Regions from separate parts of the Homo sapiens genome. Here region 2 is linked to region 1. The links are contacts of gene promoters, found by promoter capture Hi-C in blood cells and fetal thymus (Javierre and others, 2016). All regions are on one chromosome and are shown on one strand. The core of a region is centred on a gene start or on the middle of the fragment in contact, and the rest is flanking DNA. Distances in the headings are between cores, read along the strand shown.

Evidence for each region. The method cuts DNA at HindIII sites, captures the fragments that hold promoters and counts their contacts. A CHiCAGO score of 5 or more calls a contact.
Region 2: a fragment that was not itself captured here is called in contact with the fragment with the promoter of TTC23L in region 1 in 1 of 17 cell types (non-activated CD4 T cells); the score reaches 6.2 in non-activated CD4 T cells.

What each region holds. Positions count from the first base shown.
Region 1 is chr5:34,834,852-34,841,745 of GRCh38, reverse strand. TTC23L (tetratricopeptide repeat domain 23 like) reads right to left here and starts at 2,582. Exons shown (of 11, transcript NM_144725.4): 1 at 2,487-2,582; 2 at 1,007-1,081. The coding sequence starts at 1,074. TTC23L-AS1 (TTC23L antisense RNA 1) reads left to right here and starts at 2,414. Exons shown (of 2, transcript NR_183259.1): 1 at 2,414-2,563; 2 at 2,729-4,199. RefSeq lists an enhancer at 2,183-2,292. The HindIII fragment of the contact is 6,317 bases long and covers 1-4,571 here.
Region 2 is chr5:33,441,228-33,448,121 of GRCh38, reverse strand. TARS1 (threonyl-tRNA synthetase 1) reads right to left here. Exons shown (of 19, transcript NM_152295.5): 2 at 2,718-2,798. Among named protein-coding and RNA genes, the nearest start is that of TARS1, 3.7 kb to the right of the region's middle. RefSeq lists enhancers at 1-351, 6,049-6,635, 6,650-6,709. The HindIII fragment of the contact is 1,323 bases long and covers 2,115-3,437 here.

The sequences.
Region 1 (6,894 bases), core at 1,333-3,832:
CAGGAGTTCCAGACCAGCCTAGGTAACATAATGAGAACGCATCTCTACAAAAATGTAAAAATTAGGCAGGTATGGTGGTGTGTGCCTGTAGTCCCAGCTACTCAGGAGGCTGAGGTGGGAGGATCTCTTGAGCCTAAGAGGCCAAGGCTGCAGTGAGCCGTGATTGCACCACTGCACTCCAGCCTGGGTGACAGAGCAAGGCTGTCTCTAAAAACGAAACAAAACAAAACAAGAATGGATTCTAGAGTCAGAATGCCCAGTTTAAATACCATTTACTAGCTTTGCAACTTTGGGCAAACTCCCTAACATCTCTTTGATTCATACTCATCTATAAAATGTACCAATAACAGTAACTCCTTCACAGGGCTTGGGGGGATTAAATCAGCTAAGACGTTTAAGGTACTTAGAACAGAGCCTGGCACATAGTATGTGCTCAATAAGTATTAGACGATACGAAAGTTTTATTTACTCTATTTCATAAAAATTTTCTCATTAACTTTGTTATAGCTAACTCTCTACAATTTTGCCAATCTTGTTATAACTAACCTATTTTTATTTTAAAAACTTTTAAAATTTCCTTAAGTCGGGAAAAAGCAATCTTCTATCATGCATAGGTTGTAAATACAAACAGATATTATAGCAGAATCATTATTAAAGCACATCAGAAACACAACCTTCTTTTTTATTTTATTTTATTTTTTTTTGAGACAGGGTCTCTATTGCCCAGACTGGAGTGCAGTGATGGAATCTCAGCCCACCACAACCTCTGCCTCCGGGTTCAGCTATTCTCCTGCCTCAGCCTCCCGAGTAGCTGGGATTACAGTCGCGTGCCACTACCGCGCAGCTAATTTTTGTATTTTTAGTAGAGACGGGGTTTCACCATGTTGGTCAGGCTGGTCGTGAACGCTTCTCATGCAAAGCTCCTCACCCAGGTTTGCCTTAAGCAGGAGGTCCCAGTGTTTCAGCCCAGTAAGTACCTGTGATGTCAAAATGCTGTGATACTTACATATGGAAGCAGAAATCCCAGTCGATGTCATTGCTAACAGTTGGGATACGGATGGGGCTGGCTTGCATCTTCTTCCTACCAAGAATCAGGTAAGGTCAGCTTTGAGAGAAAAGGCTGGGTGTCTGTTCTATTTTCCCCCTCTGGTTTGCTATTAACATTAAACTAAAACTGCTCAAATATATAACCCATCCTAAATCCACAGACTACGCATACTTAGATATGGAGACCGCTGGAAAACAGACATTTGCCAAATTAAATGTCTAAGTTAAATTTCTTTCCCCTAATTTCAACTCCACCCTACTTCTCCAAAATCCCTGGCCTTTATGTCTCAAAGCAAGCACATTTACAGTTCCTGGGTCATCAAAACTATGGTCACCTACTTAACTCAGATATTGTTTTTGCAGGTCTGACGGCGTGTTGGATTTAAGCAAAGCAACCAACTCTCAGTGGTAAACGAAGCACAGCCAGTGTATTGGTTAATTCTGCTTTCCCCCCCCCCCCCGGGGTCATTTCACTAATTAATAGCAGATTCTAGTACAGGGGTCACGAGGCGGGTACAGAGGCTCACGCCTGTAATCCCAGCACTGTGGGAAGCCGAGGCGGGTGGATCACCCGAGTTCAGGAGTTCGAGACCAGCCTGGCCAACAGGGTGAAACCCCGTCTCTACTAAAAATACAAAATATAGTCGGCTGTGGTGGTGCACGCCTGTAGTTCCAGCTACTCGGGAGGCTGAGGCAGGAGAATCGCTTGAACCCGGGAGGCGGAGATCGCGCCACTGCACTCCAGCCTGGGCGACAGAGCGAGACTCCGTCTCAAAATAAAATAAAACAATAAAATGAAATTCATGTGTCTGTTTTAGTTGTTGCTGTTAGATGATAGGAGAAACCTCGGAAGCACAAAACGAAAAATGTGATTTCTAAATACAGTATTTGTGAAATTCAACTCTCAAGGAAGGCTATGCCAGTCGCTTAAATCAAACCCAAATCGAACGCAGTTACTTATTGAATGTTAACATCCACCAAGTCGCCTCTCCTTTCACCCTCCAGAATCACTAATTCCCACCGAGCCCTGAGTGGCTTTCTGACCCAGGCTCCAGAGCATCCATTATCCGAAAATCAGAAAGGGAGAGTCACTAATTTCTCTTTTTAACCTCCACTTTAAACACTATGCCCACAGCAAAGAGTTCTGATCTCTCAAACTCCCGGACTCTGTTCCTATGACGTTCCGCACGGCCCTGAGCCCCTCAAGGACGAATCGCTCCTCTTTTCCCGCTGTGGTTCTGCGGCAAGTCTGTAAGCCCTGACGCCGCAGGTCGAGCTCTGAGAGCCTCTCTGCCGCGGAGGCTCTAAGAGAACGCGCGAGTGCGCAAAGGGCACCTGGCTCAAGGCGGAGAAACCACGCCCCGGAACCAGCCTCCCAGCTCCCTGAGCCCGACGGCGCGGCTTCCTCCCGCTGCGTCGGCCTCCTGACCCTGGCGCACCTCGGTCCGGGCGCCAAAGCGGTGCCTCGCGAAAGCTGCACAGCCTGCGACGTCCCCAGTTACCTTCCGCAGCCCAGGTCCGGCCAAGGAGACAATACCGTTGCCATGGGAACGGAACGCTACGGGTTCTGCTGGGAGCGCCTGTAGCCATGGCGACGCGGGGCACTTCCGGTTCGGAGAGTCCCTGTTGTCTGGCGCCTACAGCAGCCCTTGCCTTACCCTCCGCTTTCCCTTCCCCGCAGGTTAGACGCGCCCGGCCTCCGGCTCGCCCCAAAACTGGCCTCTGCATATTGTATCTCACGAGACCTTACCCCTCGGAGGTGAAGGCGTAGGAAGAGAAGATACATTCCGTCCAAGGATGGAAGGGAGCGCCGGGCCCCACGGCCCTACTTATTTAAAGCTGCGACGTGTGCGGGCTGTATTCGGCGACGATCCTGGCCACGGTGCACCCCCACAGCTCCTCGGGAGTTTTGTTTTTATGGACCCCAGAGGAAAGGCTTAGATATGGCTGTTGACTGTGCTGGCACCGTCTGTGTTACCCAGTAAGATTGGAGCTAGGCATGGTTAGGAAAGCTGATTGCAGGAAGAGAGTAGGGTAAGAAATCGACTACTAGATCTGCTAATGGTTAGCTGTTCATTATTTATTTAGCACTTAGCCCTAAATAATGCAGCCATATCTTACCCTTTCGTTGGCATGGAATACAGTGTGTGTAATACACACAAGGTGCAGAGGCAATTGTGGCCATACCCAAAGAAACAGCGCCAGCTCTTGCAACGCTATGTTGAAGGATGTTATTATGAACCCTATCATAGACTAGGCCTATGGCAAGTCAAGTTGGAGTGAATGTGTCCCAGTTGTTTTCAGAAAAGAGCAGACTAGGTAGAGAGACAAGGAGAACATTGAGAATGTGAAAGATGGTGTTTACGTTTGGTGTTTGTTATTTCCAGCTCTAGGCTGGAAGTTTAATTGCCATTGATCCAAGACTGCCAAGAAAGCCTTTTTGGAGTTAGGTTGGAGGAGTTATTTAAATGAGTTTGCTTGAATATCTCTTAAGTAAAACCTGTATGGTCTGTTAACTCAAGATTTAAATCTGTACTTTCGAGCTCCATAGTCACAATTTTGGAAAGATTCCCCCACTTTATTCTTTTTCCTAAGAAAACTCTCAGCATGGAACAATGATGACAGCAATGAACCTGATTTCAGAATGTCAAGGTTCTGGTTTTGACTCTGTAGCCTGGGCCGAGTCACGGCCAGTGGGTCCCAATTTTCTTGCCTATACGGTGAAAGTTTTTGTACCACTTGCTTTCTGAAGCGCCTTCTGGTTCCAGGTTTCTGTAAGGGGTAAACGATTTTTGTGACTCTATGAACAGTATTTAACATGTATGGGAGTAAAAAGGAAGAACCTGTTTCCTGTTCTCCAACATTTATTTCTTTTACCCCTTGTTAAGTTGGTCATCAAATTGAAAGGTTTTAATGTTCTTTCATTCTAGGAAATGGCTGTGAGATTGTTTCTAAGTATATTAAAGGTAATGTCTCTTTTCTAAACCTTTGCTTTTGCTGATAATTGTGGAGAGAAGAACCAGAACAGGCACTGAATTCCCATTCCTAAAGCCAACGCTCTAATTCGGCCTCCATTTCATTAGCTCTGACCGGAAGCATGTTGCCTGCATCTGTAAAAATTATAAATCAAAATAAAATAACTTTGGCGACTATTTTTTTTCTTTTTTTGAGACAGAGTCTCACTCTGTGGCCCAGGTTGGAGTGCAGTGGTGTGATCTTGGCTCAGTGCAACCTCCGCCTCCCGGGTTCAAGCAATTCTGCTGCCTCAGCCTCCCGAGTAGCTGGGATTACAGATGTGTGCCACTACTGTCTGTCTAGTTTTTGTATTTTTAGTAGAGACAGGGTTTCACTGTGTTGGCCAGGCTAGTCTCGAACTCCTGACCTCAGGTGATCTGCCTGCCTCAGCCTCCCAAAGTGCCGGGATTACAGGTGTGAGCCACCGTCCAGCCAGAACTTTGAGGACTCTTGAAGTTTTTTGGTATTTCTTTCCTTGTCATGTTAACCCTGTCCCCCAAATGTAAGCTTTAGTTGTAGTATATACACTTTTAGGTTTGTTCACTAACTCTAGAATGGCATCCCACTAATCTAAGTGGATAGTGCGTTTCCACCGTGTGTATTCACATTCCCTCCCCTGATCCGGAGGTAGAGGTGGCAAGCATTGCTATTGCAGAAATTGCATAGAGGAAGCAGTATGGGGGGTTTTTCTAGGCTCTAACAACCCCAAATCAAATGTGATTATCTCCAAGCTATTCTTATCCCAGGAACTGTGAAATTTAAGGCAAGGAAATCCAAATAAACTTTCGCTTGGAACACATTTTTATGGCCTCTCAAGAGAGGGTTAGATGCCTTGCTTCTGAGCCCTCGCAGTACCCTGTCCACAATCTCATCATGACTCTCACATTGTACTGGCACTTCTGTTTATTTGCAAGTTTCTCCAATCTCCATACATCTATCCATCCACCCAGACAAAAATATTTGTGGAATACCTACTATGTGCCAGATAATGTTCTAAGCAGTAGGAAAGCAAAAGTGAACAAATAAGATAATGATTTTGCTTTCCAGGAATTTATATTCTACTAGATGAAGAAAAACAGAGCTGCTAGTAAACAGTATGGTGTCTCTGCAAGTTACAAAAAGGCAGAAGGCTTAGGGAGTATGCAGTGACAGTGTATGAATTTGGAAAAAGCCTTTTCCTCCAGCCAGACTCAGACCCCTGCTAAGGAGTACAGCTTTGGGAACAGAGAGTGGGCTGGATTTCAGGACTCACTGACTCCCTTAGCCAGAAGAGTCACCTTAAGAAAAAGTGGGCTGGGCACAGTGGCTCACGCCTGTAATCCCAGCACTTTGGGAGGCCAAGGCGGGTGGATCACCAGATCAGGATTTCGAGACCAGCCTGGCCAACATGGCAAAACCCCATCTCTACTAAAAGTAAAAAATTAGCTGGGTGTGGTGGCGGGTGCCTGTAATCTCAGCTACTTGGGAGGCTGAGGCAGGAGAATTGCTTGAACGTGGGAGGCAGAGGTTGCAGTGAGCCGAGATTGTTCCATTGCACTCCAGCCTGGGTGACAAGAGCAAGAATCCATCTTAAAAAAAAAAAAAAAGAAAAAAGAAAAAGAAAACATGATAAACAGTTATGGAGAAAAATAAAACCAGGTAAGGGATTTAGAAGGTGATGTGGCCATGGCGGGAGGGGTGTGCCATCTTACATAGTGTAGTTAAACAGGGCCTCTCTGACAAGATGACATTGAGAAGATACCTCAAATCGTGCAACAAATTGTGCAAATATTTAGGAGAAGAACATTCTAAGATGTTAACAGCAAGTGCAAAAGCCCTGAGGCAGGAACAAGTTTAATGGGGTCAAAGAACAGCCAAGGGTAGTAAGAATGAGGAGGAAAGAGACAAAAGACTGTGTCAGTAAAGTGGTGGGGCATCAGGTCATGGAGGGCCTTATAGGCAATTCATCCGTCTAAATATTCATCTACCCACTCAGTGAATACAGAATACCTGCTAGGTAGCAGGCCCTGATTGGCCAGCTATGAGCTCCTCGTGAGCAGGAGTTGTTATCATTGAGCCTTTAGCATTCAGCACAGTGCCTGGGATATATCAGTGTTAAAAAAGAAAAACAAAACAAAAAAAACACATAAACTACAAATGACCTTTAGGAACTCCATTAGTAGAGATTCTCCCTGTGTGTATCAGTTTCCTATTGTTGCTGTAATGTCACCACAAACTCAGTGGCTTAACAAACCACAACTTTATTATTGTATAATTCTGGAGGTTGAAAGTCTGAAATGGGTGTCACTGGGCTAAAGACAAGCTGTCTGCAAGGGTGGCTCCTTCTGGGAGCTCAAGGAGAAAATTTTTTCTTACCTTTTCCAGCCTCTAGAGCCTGGCTGCATTCCTTGATTTGTTCTCTTCATCTTCAAAGCCAGCAGCAATGCAGCATCTTCAAATCTCTGACCCTTCTTTCCATTTTTAAAAGACCCCTCTTGTTATACTGGGCCCACCTGGATAATCTTATTTAAAGGTCAGCAGATTAGCAGGCTTAATTCTATCAGCAACCTTAATTCCTCCTTGTCATGTAACTTATTCACAGGTTAGATTCACAGCTAACATATTCACAGGTTCTGAGGATTAGGACATGGATGTCTTTGGGAGGACTTATTCTGCCTACTAGAGTGTGTAACTTAAATGCATGGTTTTAAAAACATATGGAGGTGACACATAAGGAGCCCTCTTCTCCTGGCTGTTAGCAGCTTGCATCATTTGACTGTGTCCTGCTTCTTTCCATCCCTTACTGATATGGTTTGGCTGTGTCCCCACCCAAATCTCATCTTGAATTCCCAC
Region 2 (6,894 bases), core at 1,527-4,026, 1.4 Mb after region 1:
CCAATCACAAATTTCTTTGACTTAAGGTCTCCCCTTCAAGGAAAGTATTTACTGAATTCAAAGATGCCATGATCAGCTTGGAGTATGTAATTAGCAACTATATAAAACAACACACTACTACTTTCTATAGCAGATAAAATTAACAAAAATATTCTATATAAAACACCCACTTAGGTTTCTAGAGGTTTGGCAAAGAAAGAAAAAGAGACAGCAATCAGAGAGCTGACTTCTTCTACTGTCACTCTATAATCTATGGAACATTTCAAAAAGGCAGTGAATCTGTGGTAACAAAACAGTCAAACTAACATCTACAGCATTCATCATCTTCAAATTACATGAACATTAACACTTCATACAAAAGTGAAGAGGAGATTGCTTAATTTTGCCATGACTTTCTATCTTCAAATGAATTTCAATCTATCAGATATAAAATGACTTACTGCAATACAGATTTTAACATTTATTCAATGTTGATAATGCTACCAACGTCTCCATACATATGTCTCCATATATATCAACATACCACAATTTGAAAGGAGTACAAGGGAATATCTAATCCTTAAGAAACTGACTGGGGCAGGGCATGGTGGTTCATTCCTGTAATCCCAGCACTTAGGGAGGCCAAGGCAGATGGATCACTTGAGGCCAGGAGTTCGATACCACCCTGGCCAACATGGCAAAATCCTATCTCTACTAAAAATACAAAAATTAGCCAGGTGTGGTGGCGCACACCTGTAGTCCCAGCTACTTGTGGGGCTGAGGCATAAGAATTGCTTGAACCTGGGAGGTGGAGGTTGCAGTGAGCCAAGATTGGGCCACTGCACTCCAACCTGGGCAACAGAGTGAGACCTTGTCTCAAACAAAACAAAACAAAACAAAATTGACTGGAGATAATAGAAAATAATATCAAATGAAAAAGATTAATTGTCTGCCCAGTAATTCCTTCCCTCCCTCCTTCTTTCCATTCTTTAACGACAGGGTTTCACTATGTTGCCTAGGCTGGCTGGAGCGCAGTGACTATTCACAGGCACAGTCACAGCGCATTTTGGCCCCAAACTCCTGGGCTCCAGTGATTCTCCCACTCAGTCTCAAGTGATTGGTTCCTACCACCGTATCAGGCCCTAATATCTTTGTAATTCCCACCCACAGCAGTCCCTCCCTTTCTTTAGTCGTTCAGTTGTTGAGAGCTTTTCATCAAATTATCACAACGGTCCATAACCTTCAATGGTGAAGAACCCATGAATTAACTAAAAGCTCAGACAGAGCCTGTCATTCTACAACCATAATCTGAACCCCTCAGACTAATGCACAGTACCCAGTTCCATCCACTCTAAAGCATCATTATAATCCTACCCACCTGCACCACCCTCTGTATCTTAACTGCAGTTTATCATCATAGCCACTTGCAATGTCCCAATTAGAATTTCGTGTCAAAATCTCTTCAACATTCATTCAGCAGATACCCTCTGTGTCAGTCTCTGTGATTGCAGAGATGAATAAAACCTGCAAGTTGCCCTTGGAGGGGAAGACCAAGGTCTTGGACAGTTCACTGTACACTCTTTTTTCCAGACCAATCGTTAAACATAAATAATCACATGTCCCACTTAAAATTCTCTGTTCAGAAGAGTCTTCTAATTATACTCTTTGTCTTATTTCCAGGTCATTTCTCAAGCTGTGATGGAACAGCACGTATGTTTGTATTGAAAGTATAAAAAAGAAATTAGGGAACATATGCATTTTTCCATTGGCTTGCAAATTTTAAAATTCACAATCAACAATTTTCTTCACAATTACAGTGGGGGTATAATGGTCGGGAGACTGATCAACTGATCAGCCGTAAGATAAATGGTTAGGTAGGGTTCTAAGCAACACTACACTTGATCATCTATAAACTTACCCTAAAGTAAATGACGGCACTATAAATTTAGCAATTGCAGCATTTGTAAAAGTGGCTCTTAAAAGCCAGCTTACTGTGCTACTTCTAAAAAGGCTGTTCCTTTGTGCTTCTTCCTTCTGGTAGCTTTCTAAAGAGTCTCCAATAAAACAGCTGTAATGACTAAAGCAAAAAGTGAAGCACAGTTCACAGCAGTAAAAATAAAGTAGAAAGGCAAGCTTAACTGCCTGTAAAAGCAAAATACTCAGGAACCAGGTTGATTTAGGGCTGGCTTTTGATATGCCAGTTCCTTTCAGTGTGAGCCTGGAGAAGTGAAAGCATTTTCTGCAGACTTGAGAGGCCTTAAGGGGATCTGTCCTGGCTTAGAAGCCAACCCTAGGGCAGGTCCAGATGGAAAGGGCAAGGAGGGGGTCAAAAAACTGGCTTTCTTTGGTTTTCATTGTATTCAGTGTAAGCCCAAACACCAAGTCTCTATTCCCTAACATCTCATTTAATGAAATGTCAGAGCTGGCATCACATCTGGCAACTGAATAATTACCAGTCTCCTCTTCAACTTTTGTTCTCTGATTTTTATATTCAACCCTACAATCAGATCATCTTATACAATCATACGCCAGTTGCTTCCTTTTACAGTAACAACTGAAAGTCTTTTTTCCCCTCTCAGATTACCCTTTCCTAATTCTTCTTCCTGATTTTTCCAACCAGTACCATCTTACACTACCATGTAAACCATTAGAACCCTTACACATTAGGAAAGTCTCAGAAAGTTCCCTGCGATTTGCCAACCTCTGATAACAGAGCCCTCTGTGATGATAACTTTTACCTCAGCTCGACCTCCATCTCCAGATCCTTCTTTGTTCTTCTTTTTGCCTCCTTCCTTTTGCTTCTCTTCACCAGCACCAATCTAAATAAGCAAAAAACGTTTTATATTTTAATCTAATGTGACACCTCCATCCTGTGATGCCCCAGGAAGTGTTGAGAATGTTATTTTAGTATTTGTTATTTAATTTAAAAAAAATGGAAATCTGATATTGAAAGACTGAACAATTTCATCACTGGCAAAGACAGGTTAACAACTTACAATAAAGGCAAGTCTTTAAAAAGTAGGAAGGAGTTACTAACGATGTTTAACTCCTCAAATTTCATTTATTTTATTTTAACTATTCTTGTGACTCTCGCTTCAGGTTTACTTGGACCACATACCAAACATATGGCCACAAGGAAGCACGCAGTTGATTCAGTAAGCATATTTCCAGGGGAAAAAAAAAAAAACTGAATGCAAAGTGTGCCCATGAATTCCACCAGTGCTAACAAAAGCCATGGAAGAAGCAAACATAAGGCCCAATCCCTACCATGTGTAAACCTAGTCTCTCCAGGGAAAGTAAGGCATACATGTGTGAGAAACTCCCGGAGGAGAAAACACAGTAGTAACGCTACGATTAGATGTCAAATAAGCTAGGACTAGCGTTTTAAAGGATGGAATGCATTTCAACAGGTGGATTCTGAGAATACAGGAAATGTGTCCTATGTGTACACATAAGCTTGTTGTCAGAAATGTTAAAATTTAAAGAGAGAAAAAATGACTAAACCAGGCTGATTAATGAAGGATTGTTTTAGAAAGTAATACAAGGTAAGACAGACTAAGGCTCACAGAAGCAAGAACTAAAAGTTACCATAAGGAATACAGACTTCAATTAGAAGCAAGTGAAGTCATAGAAAGTTTTAAAGTAATAAATCCTGTGCCAGGAATGTAAACAGGGATTTTAATTAGTTTGCATGTTTGTGACCTTTAGTTTTCTTAAGTTTTAAGATACAATTCATATACCATACAAGTTACCCATGTAAAGTACACAATTCAATGGTTTTTAGGTATTCACTGTTTTGCAACTATCACTACCATCAATTTTAGAGTATTTTCATCACCCTCAAAAAGAAACCTTGTACCCATTAGCAGTTTACTCCCTGTTGCCTTCATCTCCAGACCCTGGCAACCATTAACCTAGTTTCTGTTTCTATAGATTTGCCTATTCTGGGAATTTCATATAAATAGAATCACACATTATGTGGTCTTTTGTGACAGGCTTCTTTTAGTTAGCATAATAATTTCAAGATCATCAGGTTGTAACATGCATCAATACTTGTCATTGTACCTTTTTATTATCAAATAATATTCCATTGCTTACTTATCCATTTATCAGTTGATGGACATTTTGGCCATTGTCTTTTAAATCCTATAAAATGCGTTACTTGTATAATTAAAAAAAAAACTAATTTTAAAATATGACTCCTAATTTCATGCTGAGCTAAAATCCCCCCTACTCCAGAAGTCTGGATTTAATAAACTTTAAAGGTTCATTTAGATTCAATAGAGCCTTTGTTATACTGCAGAAGTGATGTAACTGATCAAGTATACTGGGTAAAAAGAAAAATTGCGGCTGGGCGCGGTGGCTCATGCCTGTAATCCCAGCACTTTGGGAGGCCGAGGCGGGCAGATCACGAGGTCAGGAGATCGAGACCATCCTGGCTAACACGGTGAAACCCCGTCTCTACTAAAAAATACAAAAAAAATTAGCCGGGCGTGGTGGCGGGTGCCTGTAGTCCCAGCTACTCGGGAGGCTGAGGCAGGAGAATGGCTGGAACCCGGGAGGCGGAGCTTGCAGTGAGCAGAGATCGCGCCACTGCACTCCAGCCTGGGAGACAGAGCAAGACTCCATTTCAACAACAACAACGACAACAAAAAAAAAAAAAAAAAGAAAGAAAAATTGCAGGTCTGTGCAGGTTTAAAATGGAAAGATGATAAAATAAGTTTTATATTTCTGATAAGATTATTTTGGTTTTGACCATTTGCCAAATGAACAGGGGTAGTGAGAGAGAGAGAGAGAGAGAGAGAGAGAGAGAGAGAGAGAGGGAGAGAGAGAGAGGGAATCACCACAAAGGTTTTCTGGTTCTAAATACGGCTCCATTTTACAAACAAGAACACTGGCTCAAAGAAGTAACTTGCCCATTTGTATCATTAAGTAATAGAGCTGGGAAATTACAACAGGTCTCTCTGGAACCCTGAGGCCTATGACCCCTTTTCTACAACACTGGGAAGAGAGTAGGCAACTGTTCTCTATTTCCCTGAGTATATATGGTATGTACATCTACATACAAGTAATCTAAAATCTCAACCCAAAAGTTGGGAAACAGAACCGGATTGTGAAGAGAAGCTACAGAATTACCTTTCTCAGGAATGATCTGTCCCTGACTCACTCAGAACAGCACAGGGGTTATTAGTATTGGCTATAGGATACTGGGTTTGAGGAAGGAAAAAAACGGGGATACTGGGTTTGAGCAAGTTACTGTTCCTACGCCTGCTTTCTCATCTGTATAATGGAGATAATAACAGAACCCACTTCACAGCGTTATTAAGAAGACTGAATGAGGCCGGGCGCGGTGGATCACGCCTGTAATCCAAGAACTTTGGGAGGCCGAGACGGGCGGATCACGAGGTCAGGAGATCGAGACCATCCTGGCTAACACGGTGAAACCCCGTCTCTACTAAAAATACAAAAAATTAGCCAGGCCTGGTGGCTGAGGCAGGAGAATGGCATGAACCCGGGAGGTGGAGCTTGCAGTGAGCCGAGATCGCACCACGGCACTCCAGCCTGAGTGACAGAGCGAGACTCCGTCTCAAAAAAAAGAAGACTGAATGAGTTAATTCATGGAATGCATTAATACAGTGCCAAACTCGTATTTAGTACTCAAAATAAATATTAACTATTGTATAATTATTACAGGAAGGAAAAATTACATATGTGTTAACCATACATATCACGTCCAATTAAGAATAGCACAGGAGAATATTTATGGACATGGAAAGTTGTTGACCACATTCTATTAAGCAAAAAAAAAAAAAAAAAAAAAAGTTACAAAACAGTAAAAATATCATTTTATGTGAAAAAAATCTACGTATAGTCACCATTTATCATCTAGAATTAAATTTACATAGTTAGAATGTGCCCGTATGCAGTTTCTCCATTCAATCTCGAGTGGACAATCAAGAAAAAAATTTGGCTTTTAAGTGAACTGTCCTGTCACAGACTTGGGATAGAGGATCCCTTAGCTGAAGACGTCACCACTTCTCACTTGGACTATTACAACAGCCTTCTGCATGTGGCCTAACCTTCTATCCCAATGCCAGCGTGACTTTTACAAATACAATCTTCCTGCTTAAGATCCTTCATGTATAGAATACAAGTTTCAAACATCCTTGTTGCCTAAGATCCTTCTGATTACTGTTCCTTTAACCCTTCTGGCATATCTCTTGCAAACAACCCGAAAGACAATTCACCTGCGTGCCCCTTTTCACTGCCTTCCCTACCTTTACGTGGGAAGCCCCGTCCTGCCTGTTTACCTGGTGAAATCATTCTTCCAAACTAAATTCTAAAGTGCCTTCCTAAACTTCCTCTTCTGTAATACCACAAGGTTGATCACAAAGCACTAGGGCTGTTTTCCTGTCTCTTACACATCAGCCTGTGAGGCCCTCAAAGTCGGGGAACTGGGCCCTATTCATCTTCCCACATGCACCGCCCAGATCAGTGCCGGGCAAAATGTATACTTAACCACCCAAACTTGGACAAGCTGGGTCAGATCTCGGGCACTCGGTTTTCCTTTCCTTAAAATGGAGCTCTTTACCCCCGCAGGATCTTAGGAGATTGATTAAATAAGGCTCTGCAATGTGTTTCCCGCTTACAGTAAGCCATAAACGCAAGTTTGGAAGCCTCAAGCCTAAGATTCTGATTCTGTCTCCGCGTCTAACTACTGTAGATGTGAGGCTCTGAACAAGTCGCTCACTCAAGGTCTGTTTCCTCATCTGTAAAGAGAATGGACCCACAGATGAACTGCAAGGCCCCACCCTAATTTATGAATGGATGGTTCCCAAAGGGGGTTCCGACTTTCCAGGAGTCCCACCATCCCCCACTTCTCCGACCCACGCGGTCCCGGCCGCTTCCTGCTTC